Linked DNA regions of Homo sapiens: regions 1 and 2 are each linked to region 3. Evidence: promoter capture Hi-C in human tissues and cell types (Jung and others, 2019). All regions are on one chromosome and are shown on one strand. The core of a region is centred on a gene start or on the middle of the fragment in contact, and the rest is flanking DNA. Distances in the headings are between cores, read along the strand shown. Region 1 has its middle 25 kb from the start of IGFL1. Region 2 has its middle 6.9 kb from the start of IGFL3. Region 3 holds the start of RSPH6A (radial spoke head 6 homolog A).

Region 1 (4,227 bases), core at 1,180-3,679, 440 kb before region 3:
GAGCTCTGAAGGGAGTTGGGTTAGAACACTGTGAAGAACGCAGAGGGCGGTAAGGTGGGCAGTGCTGTGTGAAGACGAGTTAGGGCAAAGCTGGTACTGCCTTATGTCCAGAATGGCATTTTTTTTTGAGGTAAAATTCACATAATGTCAAATTAAGTTTCTAAAAATGTACAAGTCAGAGGCAGTGAGTGCTTTCACAATGTTGTGCAACCATTACCACTATTTCCAAACAATCGCATCACCCTAAAGGAACCGTGTATCCATGAAGGAGTCACGCCTCTTTTTCTCCTTCTCTCAGCCTCCAGCAACCACTAGTCTTCTATCTCTACGAATTTGTCTCTTCTGGATATTTTGTATAAATGGATTCATGCAGTATGTGAGATGACAGGCTGGATGGGGCTCGTATGTGAGCCCTTAGTTGACAACACTGAGGAGCGCTAGCTGTCACAGGGACAATGTTTATTATAGAAAGGATTTATGTAAAAAAAAAAAAAAAAAAAAAAAAAACAGCTGGCTATGGTGGTGGTGCATGCCTGTAGTCCCAGCTACTCTGGAGGCAGAGGCCAGATGATTGCTTGAGCCCAAGTTCATCCAGCCTGGGGAACATAGTTGAGACCTTGTCTCTGGAAAAAAAAAACACCCAAAACCAAAACCCCAAAAAACCCTGTTCTCTTTTATCTCCATGGAAGAAATGAGCCCAAGGAGGGCACCTGGAGAATCCTCAACGTGAGAAGTCCAGCATTCGCTGATGCATCCAAACTAGTGCCAGCATTAGTTTTGCCCAAAGTGTCACAAAGTCCCTCATGGAGGTATCTCTTTCTGCTTTTAGAGAGGTGTTAAAGGAGAGTGGTAAATAATAGGTTTTGGTTTTATTTATCCACTTAATGAAAACTAAAATGTTTACTCAGTACCTCTGTGTACCTGGCCCTGTGACACAGGGTGAGGTCACTGTGTTGCCCATGGTTTGTTAGTGTGTAGAAATGCAATAGAGTTTTGAGTGTCAATTTCACACTTTGCAACTTTGCTGAATTTTTTGTTAATTCTTTTTTTTTCTGAGACAGACCCTCACTCTGTCGCCCAGGCTGGAGTGCAGTGGTGCAATCTCGGCTCACTGCAACCTCTGTCTCCCAGGTTCAAGCGATCCTCCTGCCTTCATCTCCTGAGTAGCTTTGATTACAGGTGCGTACCACCACACCCCGCTAATTTTTTGTATATAGTAGAGACGGGGTTTTGCCATGTTGGCCAGACTGGTCTTGAACTCCTGACCTCAGGTGATTCACTCACCTCGACCTCTCAAAGTGCTGGGATTACAGGCGTGAGCCACTGCGCCCGGCCTTGTTTGTTAATTCTAACAGGTGTTTTATTTGGGGTGTGTGTGTGTGGAAGGTTTAGTGTTTTCTATAAATAAGATTATGTTTCTGTGAATAGAGATGCTTTTACCTCTTCCTTTCCAATTTGGATGCTTTTAATTGTTTTAACCACCAAAACAATTCTCTATTATTTTTTTGGTCATGAAGTCCTTGTAATGATAGTAGGGCTGGGTACCATATTGGTGTCACACTCTGCCAGTCATCCAAAGAATATGCCAGACTTTTTTTTGTTTCAACTCCTGTGTGTACTAGTACGTCACTGGGCCCATCAGGTGGCTCACCAAGAGAATTTCAGTAATGGATTTCGGCTCTCTGTGCATAATAGATGACAGTCCTTACGAAGGATTCCGTTTGTCTTATAGCTTAGATTTGAACCTGCTGCAGATGTCACATTTACATTCTTGGATGGGTTTTTATCATCAGTTTCACCTCCTCCTCCTCTTCTTCCTCCTCCTTTTCTCTCTGGATGCTTTTAATTCTTTTCTTTTCTTTTTTTTTTTCTAAAGGTTCTGGCTAGCACCTCCAGTACAATGTTAAATAGCAGTGGTAGAAGCAGGTCTCTTTGTCTTGTTCCTGATCTTGGAGGAAGAGCCTTCAGTCTTTCACCCTGGAGCTCACGGCCTAGAGAAGAAGGCACAGAAATGAGCAAATTATGCAAATTAATGTATCATTTCAATTAGTGATATGTGCAACAGCAAGTAGCATAAGACATATTAATGTGTAAAATTTTGTCTCGGAAGGAGGAGAAACTTTCTCAAAGAATCTGCGTCCTGAGTAATTGGTAGGAGTAGGAAATCTATTAAGGTGATAGATACTCTAGCAGGGATTGCCCTAATTTCTTTTTGGCATTGGCCCCACTTAACAACGGAATAGGAAAACCTCCAGGAAGGAAGGAAGCTAAAGAAACCGGACTGGTTAACCAAGGAACCAGATCTGTTGCCTAAAAGTGAATCATCAAGTTTGTGGCTATTCCTGTAGGGCATGGTAAATGCCCACAACACATGGCCCTGAAGTTTGTTCTTCTTTCTGACTTTGATGGAGTTCAATTTATTGGTGTTTACTATTTTGCCTGGACTTTTGGTGTCACATCCAAGAAATCTGCCAAGTCCAATGTCAGGAAGCTTTCTCCCTATGTATTCTTCTAAGAGCTTTATAGTTTTAACTTTTGCATTTAGGCCTTGGATCTCATTAGTTTTTTGAACTAATTCTTGTGTATGGTTAGAGATAAGGGTCCAACTTCATTTTTTTTTTTTTTTTTTTGAGATGGAGTCTCGCTCTGTTGCCCAGGTTGGAGTGCAGTGGCGCGATCTCGGCTCACTGCAAGCTCCGCCTTCCAGGTTCACACCATTCTCCTGCCTCAGCCTCCCAAGTAGCTGGGACTACATGTGGCCACCACCATGCCCAGCTAATTTTTTGTATTTTTTTTAGTAAAGACAGGGTTTCGCTGTGTTAGCCAGGATGGTCTCGATCTCCTGACCTTGTGATCCGCCTGCCTTGGCCTCCCAAAGTGTTGGGATTACAGGCGTGAGCCACCGCGCCTGGCCTGTTCTTTATTTTTCAAAATTATTTTGTCTATTCAGGGTCCCTTAAGAGTCCATGCGAATTTTAGGATTTTTTCTGCTTCTGCAAAATTGTCATTGAGATTTTGATAGAGATTGCTTTGAAGCTGTAGATCACTTTGGGTAGTATGGACATTGTTACAATATTAAATCTTCCAACCCATGAACACAGACTGTCTTTCCATTTATTTGTGTCTTCATTACTTTTTTTCAACAATGTTTTGTAGTTTGCACTATACAAGTCATTTGCTCTCTTGGTTAAGTTTATTCTGAATTATTTTATTCTTTTTTTATTTTTATTTTTTGAGACAGAGTCTTGCTCTGTGGCCCAGGCTGGAGTGCAGTGGCATGATCTTGGCACACTGTAACCTCCCCCTCCTGGGTTCAAGCAATTCTCTTGCCTCAGCCTCTGGAGTAGCTAGGATTACAGGCGAGCGTCACCATGCCCGGCTAATTTTCATATTTTTAGTAGAGACGGGGTTTCACCATGTTGACCAGGCTGGTCTTGAACTCCTGACCTCAAGTGATCCACCTGCCTCAGCCTGCCAAAGTGCTGGGATTACAGGCGTGAGCCACCATGCCTGGCCTGAAGCACTTTATTCTTTTTGATGGTATTATAAATGAGGTAGTTTTCTTAATTTCCTTTTTGGCTTGTTCATTGTTAGTGTATAGAAATGCAAGAAATTTTTTTTTTTTTTAAGTTGAAGTCTCGCTCAATATCCCAGGCCGGAGTGCAGTGGCACCGTCTCAGCTCACTGCAGCCTCTGCCTTCCAGGTTCAAGTGATTCTTCTGCCTCAGCCTCCCGAGCATCTGGGATTACAGGTGCCCACCACCACACCCAGCTAATTTTTGTATTTTTAGTAAAGACTGGGTTTCACCATATTGGCCAGGCTGGTCTTGAACACCTGACCTCAGGTGATCTGCCCACCTCGGACTCCCAAAGTGCTGGGATTACAGGTGTGAGCCAACACACCTGGCCTAATTTTATATATGCAAATATATAAATATCTCTCTCTCATCAGTGGTAGAACATACATTTTTTTCAAGTCTATGTTAAACATTTATGCTAAATTGATCATATGATGGGTCATAAAGAAAGTCTCAGCTTCCAAAGGATGATTATTATTAAAAGTAGGTTTTTGAGCTGGGTGCTATGGCAGATGCCTATAATCCCAGATACTCAGGAGGCTGATGTGGGAGGATCACTTGAGCCTGAGAGTTCAAGTCTAACCTGGGCAACATAGTGATACCTCATCTCTAAAGAAATGTTCTCTGGGACTCCCAGCTTCCAGTCAAG
Region 2 (4,433 bases), core at 1,459-3,958, 320 kb before region 3:
GAACCCAAGACCAGTAATGTATTATTTAGGGGCTTGCCTGGGATCATGGTGTAGAAAATAAAATAAGTAGAGGTTCCTCTTCAGAGGGACTTTCCTCCCAGTCTAATTGAGAATAGATAGTAACCTCTCTTAGAAGCAAAATTTACTCAAAGACCTGTGCTAATATTCTTAAATATCTGCTAGCCATAATAAAGAAATCAATATACTCTGCGTTCTTAGCTACCGCATTTTAGCCTAGATATTTGCCCTGGCATGCCTGAACAGGCCCAAGCAAGCATTAGGTCATAGCCTATTCCTCTTCCTTATTTGGAAGTGCTTTTGCCTCTCTCAGCATTCCACAAGTTACTTCCTGTCTTCCTTTGTTCTCCTCTGCCTTTGCCTCTTTGGGGAAGTTCTAAGTTGCTAGCCAATCAGGTCAAGTACAGAATGTGAGGTCCCATTCCAGCCAACGGAAGCCAGACACAGCAGTAGGGTGGCATATCAGGTTATAAATGACCCTGTCTCCTTTGTTCGTGTGTGCTCTCATGGCAAGACTGCTAGCAAGCGGCCCTCTTTCTGCAGAAAGTAAACTAGCCTTGCTGAGAGATCCTTTGTCTCAGTGTTGATTTTTGTGACACCGAGCACCCATTCCCAACAATGGGATGTGGGGAGCCTTTCTCTCCCTGAGGGGGAGACTTGTGAGCTGATGGGACTGCTGGACAAGATCCCTTCACGGCTGACAAGCAGCTGCCTGAACTTCTGATTCAGTGTCGCCAAGCTGGTTGAGTCTTTCTCCAGCCTGCCAGCCCTCCTTGCCTCCCCCATCCCTCCTGCAGGCAATGCTTTTCTCCCTTCCCTTCTTGCTTTCTCTCCTTTTCACTTCCTAACTTTTCTGTCACTTAGGGTGCCTTGTCTCTCCTCTCCTAATCCTTAGTGGTTTGGGTCACGTGAACAGATATCTGTGAGGGACAGGTTGAAATCGTTGACTACCTGGATCTGATCAACTCAGCAGGCAGTGGGACAGAGTGTACCTTTTCCCTGGCCTAAGTTGGTTTGGGTTCCAGTCCCAAGAAACAATTCTATCCATCCCTCCCTCCCTTTCTCCCTCCTTCCCTTTCTTCTTCTTTCCTCTCCCTCTCCCTCCCTTTCTCCCTCCTTCCCTTTCTTCTTCTTTCCTCTCCCTCTCCCTCCCTCTCTCCCTCTATCGTTTTCCCTCCCTCTTCCTCTCCTTCTCTCTCCCCTTCTCTGTCATACTGGCCCTCAATCCTGTAACTCTATTCAAAACCCCTCACCACTTCACTTTCTCTTTGCCACACCATGTGAGGAGGGGAAGCCTGTGGACTTTTCTGTCATCTGTCTGTTTGGGTGTGTGAGTCTATCAACTTTGGGTGCTGGCTTTTTAAGGAGAGAACTGACAGCACGTGGAACCAAAGTTTGTGTCACTTATGTCCCAATGAATTGTTTTCTTTCTGTGCATTTAATTCAATATCTTATTTTCCCATGCAACCCACTGGTTGGCCTCTTGTAAAAAGGAGAGACTTTTGCCTATGGTTCCATGAAATGGAAAGGGATCATTTTCTTTTGTAACGTGGCTTGGCCCCCACAGCTATGCCACAGGGAGCAAGGTCACCAAAGTTGCTCAGAAAAAGAGAACCCAAAACCGTAGCATGCCAGCAAAAGGGTAAGAATTTCTTACCAGCCAGGCTTCTGGACTTTCTCTGTGTGTGTGTGAAAACTGGTTAAGTGAATGACAAAATTCACTGTTTCCCTCCTCTGCAAGGCTTTAACCCATTTCCTGTTGGCCAAGAATATTCTTATCTTTAATACTAATGTAAAATCATATACATTTCTGCTACGTTAATACTAGAGACAAGTTCTGTTTAGAAACAACTCCAAGAACAGTTTTGTTTTTGTTGTTGTTGTTTGAGAGGGAGTCTCGCTCTGCTCCCCAGGCTGGAGTGCAGTAGCATAATATTGGCTCACTGCAACCTCCACCTCCTGGGTTCAAGCGACTCTCCCACTTCAGCCTCCCGAGTAGCTGAGACTACAAGCATAGGCCACCATGCCCGGCTAACTTTTGTATTTTTAGTAGAGACAGGGTTTCACCATATTAGCCAGGCTGGTCTTAAACTCCTGGCCTCAAGTGATCTGCCTGCTTCAGCCACCCAAAGTGCTGCGATTACAGGCATGAGCCAAGAAGGGGTTTTTATGTTTTATTTTCACACTGAAAATCAGTCATATTCGCTTCAGCCTCGAAGAGCATGTTTACGTAAAATTAAATGGGTGTTGACAGCAAACTAGACCTAATAAAAAAAGAAGTCGATAAACCTCTGAGACAGAAAGTATTAAAACATTAGAATGCTCATGCTTTCCAAAGCCAAACAATGTTTACAAAAAAATTTCATCTGAATTCCCATTTTTAAATTTTGCTATTTTTTAGGAGGAGGGTTTAGAAAATTACTTGGGAGCTCTTAAAGCTGACTGCACAAATATTGTCGAGTAAAGCTTAATGTAGTGTAATAAGGAGAGAAGTTTTTGTCTATTATTAAAATTTAAAACAAAGCTACTGTAAATGAACCAGACACTACCTAGAAAAATTACACATAAATCAATTGAACAGAGTCCATCAACAGATAAAGCTAATAATGGAAAACTGAGATATAAGAAAAGTAACATTGTACATTAGAAGAAAAGGGATGAAACTAGTCAACAAGTAATTTCAGATTCAATAGGACATTCATTAGCAAGAAAATTAACTTAGACTCAGCATCACATCTTATAGAAAAAGTTATATGTGAATAAAAATGACTAAAAAGAAAGTAAAAATATAGAACTATTCATAGAACTTTAAGTTGGAGATGGCCTCCTTACGTAAGCGGAAGCCAAAAAGTGGAAAGAAGATGTAGGGCAGTGGTAAAAGACACTGCTGCATAAAAATTTAAAATATCTCAAAAAAGAAGACTCCACCAGCATTACTGAGAAACAAACACAAAGGCGAGGAAAACATATAACAGACAAAAGGTTAGTATCTCCCATATAAAAAGAGCATTTATAAATTAATAAGAAGGAAGCAAACAACCCAAAACAATTATTCTGAATAGTGTATCATTTACAGAAAAGGAACTATACATCATTAAACATAAAAATAATGAGAAATACTGGGAACCTTCATCCAAGCTCATAAATTTCTTCTAATCTTAGTTCTTGCTCACTTTATTTTTTAATTTGGAACCTACCAAAGATAATAAATTCCTCTTTTTGCCACAGCTTAAGCTAGTTTAAACTGGCAAGCAACCACTTGCAAGTAACCAGTTTATAAACATAATGAAAAGGTGCTTCCAAGAACCTCAATAAACAGCATGTAGACAAACAAATGCCATATTTTAAATAACATGGTATGTTCTTTAACTCATCATCTGATGCTTGCTGGGGGAACTAAAATATTTATCAAAACTCTAAAGAAGTTATTGCCCTGTGAGATAATGAAAAAGGCTGTTTCATAGGAAACGTGTACTTCACCCACTTAGTTCAGGAGATCATACCCTGTAGTATTTGGTTTAAATAAACAGTGAACCTGAACCCTTGAAACTGCATGCAGTCCATCTCACATGCAATTACACCCACAGGCTCAAAATAAAGGGATGGAGGAAAATCTACCAAGCAAATGGAAAACAGAAAAAAGCAGGAGTTGCAATCCTAATCTCAGATGACTTTAAACCAACAAAGATAAAAAAAGACAAAGAAGGGTATTATGTAATAGTAAAGGGTTCAATTCAACAAGAAGGCCTAACTATCCTAAATACATATGCACCCAACACAAGAGCACCCAGATTCAGAGAGCAAGCTCTTTGAGACCTTCAAAGAGATCTAGACATCCATACAATAATAGTGGGAAACTTCAATACCTCACTGACAGTATTAGACAGATCATCAGGTCAGAAAATTAACAAAGATATTCAGGACCTGAACTCAGCACTGGATCAAATGGGCCTGATAGACATCTGCAGAACTCTCCACACAAAAGCAATAGAATATACATTCTTCTCACCACCACATGGCACACATTGAAAAATCGACCACATAATCAGACACGAAACACTCCTCAGCAAACACAAAAGAACCGAAATCATAACAACCACTCTCTCAGACCATAGCACAATCAAATTAGAAATCAAGACTAAGGAATTTGCTCAAAACCATACAATTACATGGAAATTGAATAACCTGCCCCTGAATGACTTTGGGGTAAATAATGAAATTGAGGCAGAAATCAAGAAGCTATTTGAAACCAATGAGAACAAAGATACAATATACCAGAATCTCTGGAACACAGCTAAGGCAGGAGTAAGAGGGAAATTTATAGTACTAATTGCCCACTTCAGAGAGTCAGAACTCAGCTTCACAACCTAACATCACAACTAAAAGAACTAGAGAACCCAGAGCAAACAAACCCC
Region 3 (4,732 bases), core at 1,791-4,290:
CAAGCCTGCAGGTTTTCCAAGGGCGGGGCTTGCAGTGTGCCTTCTGCTGGGTCGGGGGAGTCTCCTCTCTCCCGCAGGGGCTTTAGAAGTCAGGGCTTTAGAAGTCTTCCCCTCACATGGGCAGACAGCAGAGGCCGGGACTCCCACCTCCCAGGGGGCAGCTGGGCAGAGAGGACAGGCCCACTCTCCGCCTCCTCGCAGCCACCAACCTGTGCTTTGCGGAGCGGAACGTGTACACGTCAGAGGTGCTGGCCGTGGTGATGCAGCAGCTGATGGAGCAGAGCCCCCTGCCCATGCTGCTCATGAGGACCGTCATCCAGTCCCTGACCATGTACCCCCGCCTGGGGGGCTTCGTCATGAACATCCTGTCCCGCCTCATCATGAAGCAGGTAACCCATCCCCGGCCACCCCGCCTCCAGGCTGCAGACAGCAGCTTCTAGCCTGCTTGCCCTCCCCTTCCCCCGTCTGACCCCGGAGGGAGCCCGGTGGAGGACAGCAGGCTCTGCTCTGCCTCCTGCCAAGAAAATAGCAGTGCTCCAGGGTGTATGACTGGGCCAGCTCCCAGGTGATGAGGGAGGGCAGCTGGGTGGTAGGAGCTGTGGTAACCCTCAAGGGGTGTGCACCCGGGAGAGGCATGGCTGCTCCTCACCCTCCACCGCTGTGTGCCCGGCCAGGATGCATCCCAGAGCTGAAAAATGGCCCAGTTTTTTAAGAGGTGCTAGAAATTTGGGCTTTAGAAATACCACGATAAGGCCAGGTGTGATGGTTCACACCTGTAATGCCAACTCTTTGGGAGGCCGAGACAGGAGGACTGCTTGAGCCCAGGAGTTTGGGGCTGCAGTGAGGAAGAAACGCGCCACTCACTGCACTCTAGCCTGGGCGGCAGAGTAAGACCATCTCTCAAAAAAAAAAAAAAAAAAAAAAAAAAAAGAGAACAAAAAAACCAAACCCCGCAGGACTAATGTCGCCCCCTGGAGGCTGCGGTGAGAATGTACATGTGACCCAGGACAGGTCCCGGCACCGGCACGGACCTCCGCTGTTTAGCAGGGGTAATTTCGCCCCCTGGAGGCTGCCGTGAGAATGTCATGAGAGGTGCTCCCGCAGCACTTAGCCTGGGCCTGGCCCAGGGGGAGCTCTGGTAAAAGGCGGCTGAGTTTTCTTCCACCCCCTTCCCAAGTTGCCCTCGTGGTCCAGCCGCCTGGATCGGGAAGACAAAGGCCTCTGGAGGGAGGTCGGGGCTGCTTGTTGCCCATCCAGAGGAATCTTGGATGGTGGGATTTGGGCATGGTCTTGGCAAGGTCTTTCTCCCAGTGTCAAGGCTCGGGGGGATGCCTGTGTGCCTCTCCCGACGGCTCCCTCCCTCCCTGGTTCAGGTGTGGAAGTACCCCAAGGTGTGGGAGGGCTTCATCAAGTGCTGCCAGCGCACAAAGCCCCAGAGCTTCCAGGTCATCCTGCAGCTGCCGCCCCAGCAGCTGGGAGCCGTCTTTGACAAGTGCCCAGAGCTCCGGGAGCCCCTGCTGGCCCATGTCCGCTCCTTCACCCCCCACCAGGTACCCCTTCCCCCCACCAGGTACCCTTTCCCCCCACCCAGGGTGTGCGGTGGGCGGCCCCCTGGGTCCCTCTGGTTGGTGGGGACTGGATGGAGGCGGACACAAGAAGGCCCTGCACTGCTGGGAGTTCTGGAGGGTTAGGGCCCCCGGACCTGAGGTGTGCAAATGGGGTCTCTGTGCCAGAGCTGCCCCCAGCGCCCCCTTCCTGCTCTCCACCCAGCAAGCTCACATCCCTAACTCCATCATGACCATCTTGGAGGCCAGCGGCAAGCAGGAGCCAGAGGCCAAGGAGGCGCCTGCGGGGCCCTTGGAGGAGGTGAGGGCCCTGCAGCCCACCCATCTGGATCCCCAGACTCCCACCCCCTACCCCAAGCCAGCAAGGCTCACCATGGCCTCCTCCTGACCCCGAGAGACTCAGGCCACCCCTGCCTCTGGGCCACCCGTCTCCCAGGGGATGCTCCTGCTGGGAGTTGGGGGTCTGGGGGACAACTGCCCCTTCCTCCCCATGCTCTTGGTGAAGAACTCAAAGACCACCTCAGGGTGGTTCCTTCTCTTTCCGGCCGTCCTCTGAGCCACCCACCTCTGAGCTTCTGTGTGGCCCTCCCTATCCCCAGGATGATCTGGAGCCCCTGACCTTGGCCCCGGCCCCAGCACCCCGGCCCCCTCAGGACCTCATCGGCCTGCGACTGGCCCAGGAGAAGGCCTTAAAGCGGCAGCTGGAGGAGGAACAGAAGCTGAAGCCGGGAGGAGTGGGAGCCCCCTCCTCTTCCTCCCCCTCTCCCTCTCCGTCGGCCCGGCCAGGCCCGCCCCCGTCTGAGGAAGCCATGGATTTCCGGGAGGAGGGGCCTGAGTGCGAGACCCCGGGCATCTTCATCAGCATGGATGACGACTCGGGGCTGACCGAGGCCGCGCTGTTGGACTCTAGTCTCGAGGGCCCCCTACCCAAGGTAGGGAGAGCAGCCTCCGCTGCGAAGGAAGAAGCCGGATCTGGGCCGGGGTGAAGGTGGGGGAGGAGGGGCCATCAGGGGGCAGGGCCTGAAGGGGAGCGTGGAGGTGACCGCGCCCTCCACCCGGCTGCCCTTTCCTTCCCCGGTCACCAGGAGACGGCAGCGGGCGGGCTGACCTTGAAGGAGGAGCGGAGCCCCCAGACCCTCGCACCTGTTGGAGAAGATGCTATGAAGACTCCCAGCCCGGCTGCCGAGGACGCCAGGGAACCCGAGGCCAAGGGGAACAGCTGACGGGGCTCGAGGGGGAAAGGGGGTGGGACAGGGACTCGGGGCTGGGGGACGGGGCGGGGCTTGACCTGCGGGTGCTTTGCCTTAAAAAGAAATAAAAGATGTGAACTTGGGCAAGTTACTGAAAAGAAAAAAAAAAAGGGATGGCGGGCCTGGGGCGCGGGTGCCGTCTCGAGTCTGGCGCGACGTCCACCGTGGGGCTGCGCGGGATCGGGAGTGCGCGCCCAGAGCCTGCGCGGAACCCACCCTGGCCCGCTCCCCGCGCCCTCCACGGGTAACGGCCCCCTCTCTCGGTGCTCAGAAACCGGCGGTGTCGACAGGTGGCTCTCGCTTGGCCTCCTTGTCTGCAAGCCTTTCTCCTAGAGATCTGTGCCTCCTGGCGAACCATGGGAGACCTGCCGCCCTACCCTGAGCGCCCTGCCCAGCAGCCTCCGGGCCGGAGGACTTCTCAGGCCTCCCAGAGGCGGCACAGTCGGGACCAAGCTCAGGCCCTGGCAGCGGACCCCGAGGAGAGGCAGCAGATACCTCCAGACGCCCAGCGAAACGCCCCTGGTTGGTCACAGAGGGGCAGCCTGTCCCAACAGGAGAACTTGCTGATGCCCCAGGTCTTCCAGGCTGAGGAAGCCCGGCTGGGTGGCATGGAGTACCCATCTGTGAACACGGGCTTTCCCTCAGAGTTCCAGCCTCAGCCTTACTCTGATGAAAGCAGGATGCAGGTCGCCGAGCTCACCACCAGCCTAATGCTGCAGCGGCTCCAGCAGGGCCAAAGCAGCCTGTTCCAGCAACTGGACCCCACCTTCCAGGAGCCCCCAGTCAACCCCTTGGGCCAGTTCAACCTCTACCAGACAGACCAGTTCTCTGAAGGTGCCCAGCACGGGCCTTACATAAGGGATGACCCTGCCCTTCAGTTCTTGCCCTCTGAGCTGGGCTTCCCACACTACAGTGCCCAGGTGCCTGAGCCCGAGCCTCTGGAGCTGGCCGTGCAGAACGCCAAGGCCTACCTGCTGCAGACCAGCATCAATTGCGACCTCAGCCTGTGAGCAGGGGCTAGGAGTGGGGCGGGTGGGGGACCCAGGCAGGGAGGGGCCCCACCCGAAGTGCCTGCCTCAGTCAGTCAGACAAGGGATCATCCCTCATGGAAAACCAGTGACTCTAATTCAGCTGAGTCGGAATCAATGCCAACAACAGCTAGCATTCACTTCCCAGACATGTGCTGGCACTGCACACACTCACCTAATTCTCACCGGAGATGAGCACATCAGCTCATCCTACTTTACAGAGGAGGAGACCGAGACACAGAGAAGTTGGGTCGCTTACCCAAAACTACACAGCTAGGATATGGCAGAGTCAGGATTCCAGAACACGTGATTTGGCTCCCCAAGCCCTCTTGCTTTTTTTTTCCCCCAGACATAGTCTCACCCTGTCACCCAGGCTGGAGCACAGTGGCGTGGTCTTGGCTTAGGGCAACCTCTCCTTCCCAAGTTCAAGTGATTCTTCTGCTTCAGCCTCCCGAGTAGTTGGGGTTACAGGCGCGCTCCACTTCACCCAGCTAATTTTTGTATTTTTAGTAGAGGCAAGATTTCACCATGTTGCCCAGGCTAGTCTCAAACTCGACCTCAAGTGATCCGCCCATCTCAGCCTCCCAAAGTGCTAGGATTGCAGGCATGAACCACCGTGCCCAGCCCTCCTGAGACCCTCTTATCCTGCAACTAAACCTCCCTGCCTGAGGAAGATACTTGCCAAAGCCACTTAGCTACAGTCACAAAACACTGCTCTCAGCCTCCATTAGATACCCAGGATGCTCTCATTCTAGGAGAGTGGACAAGAAACAGAAAAAGTGATAAACTGAAGCTAAGGACTCAGGTGAAAAATAAGGGAGGCTAAGAGGGCTAGGGAACACATGAAATAGTGGGGGTCCAACCAGGTGCGGTGGCTCACGCCTGTTAT

The links. The method cuts DNA at HindIII sites, captures the fragments that hold promoters and counts their contacts. A contact is called where the count stands out against the background at its distance.
Region 1: a fragment that was not itself captured here is called in contact with the fragment with the promoter of RSPH6A in region 3 in 1 of the 25 tissues and cell types used here (aorta).
Region 2: a fragment that was not itself captured here is called in contact with the fragment with the promoter of RSPH6A in region 3 in 2 of the 25 tissues and cell types used here (dorsolateral prefrontal cortex and liver).

Annotation. Positions count from the first base shown.
Region 1 is chr19:46,253,053-46,257,279 of GRCh38, reverse strand. No RefSeq gene overlaps it. Among named protein-coding and RNA genes, the nearest start is that of IGFL1, 25 kb to the right of the region's middle. The HindIII fragment of the contact is 4,943 bases long and covers 1-4,227 here.
Region 2 is chr19:46,129,410-46,133,842 of GRCh38, reverse strand. It overlaps a transcript of IGFL2 not described here. Among named protein-coding and RNA genes, the nearest start is that of IGFL3, 6.9 kb to the right of the region's middle. RefSeq lists enhancers at 1-203, 204-1,035. The HindIII fragment of the contact is 6,419 bases long and covers 1-4,433 here.
Region 3 is chr19:45,813,616-45,818,347 of GRCh38, reverse strand. RSPH6A (radial spoke head 6 homolog A) reads left to right here and starts at 3,040. Exons shown (of 6, transcript NM_030785.4): 1 at 3,040-3,821. The coding sequence starts at 3,172. SYMPK (symplekin scaffold protein) reads left to right here. Exons shown (of 27, transcript NM_004819.3): 23 at 202-389; 24 at 1,374-1,550; 25 at 1,771-1,866; 26 at 2,165-2,497; 27 at 2,651-2,938. The coding sequence ends at 2,788. RefSeq lists a silencer at 1,047-1,136 and an enhancer at 1,297-1,366. The HindIII fragment of the contact is 35,300 bases long and covers 1-4,732 here.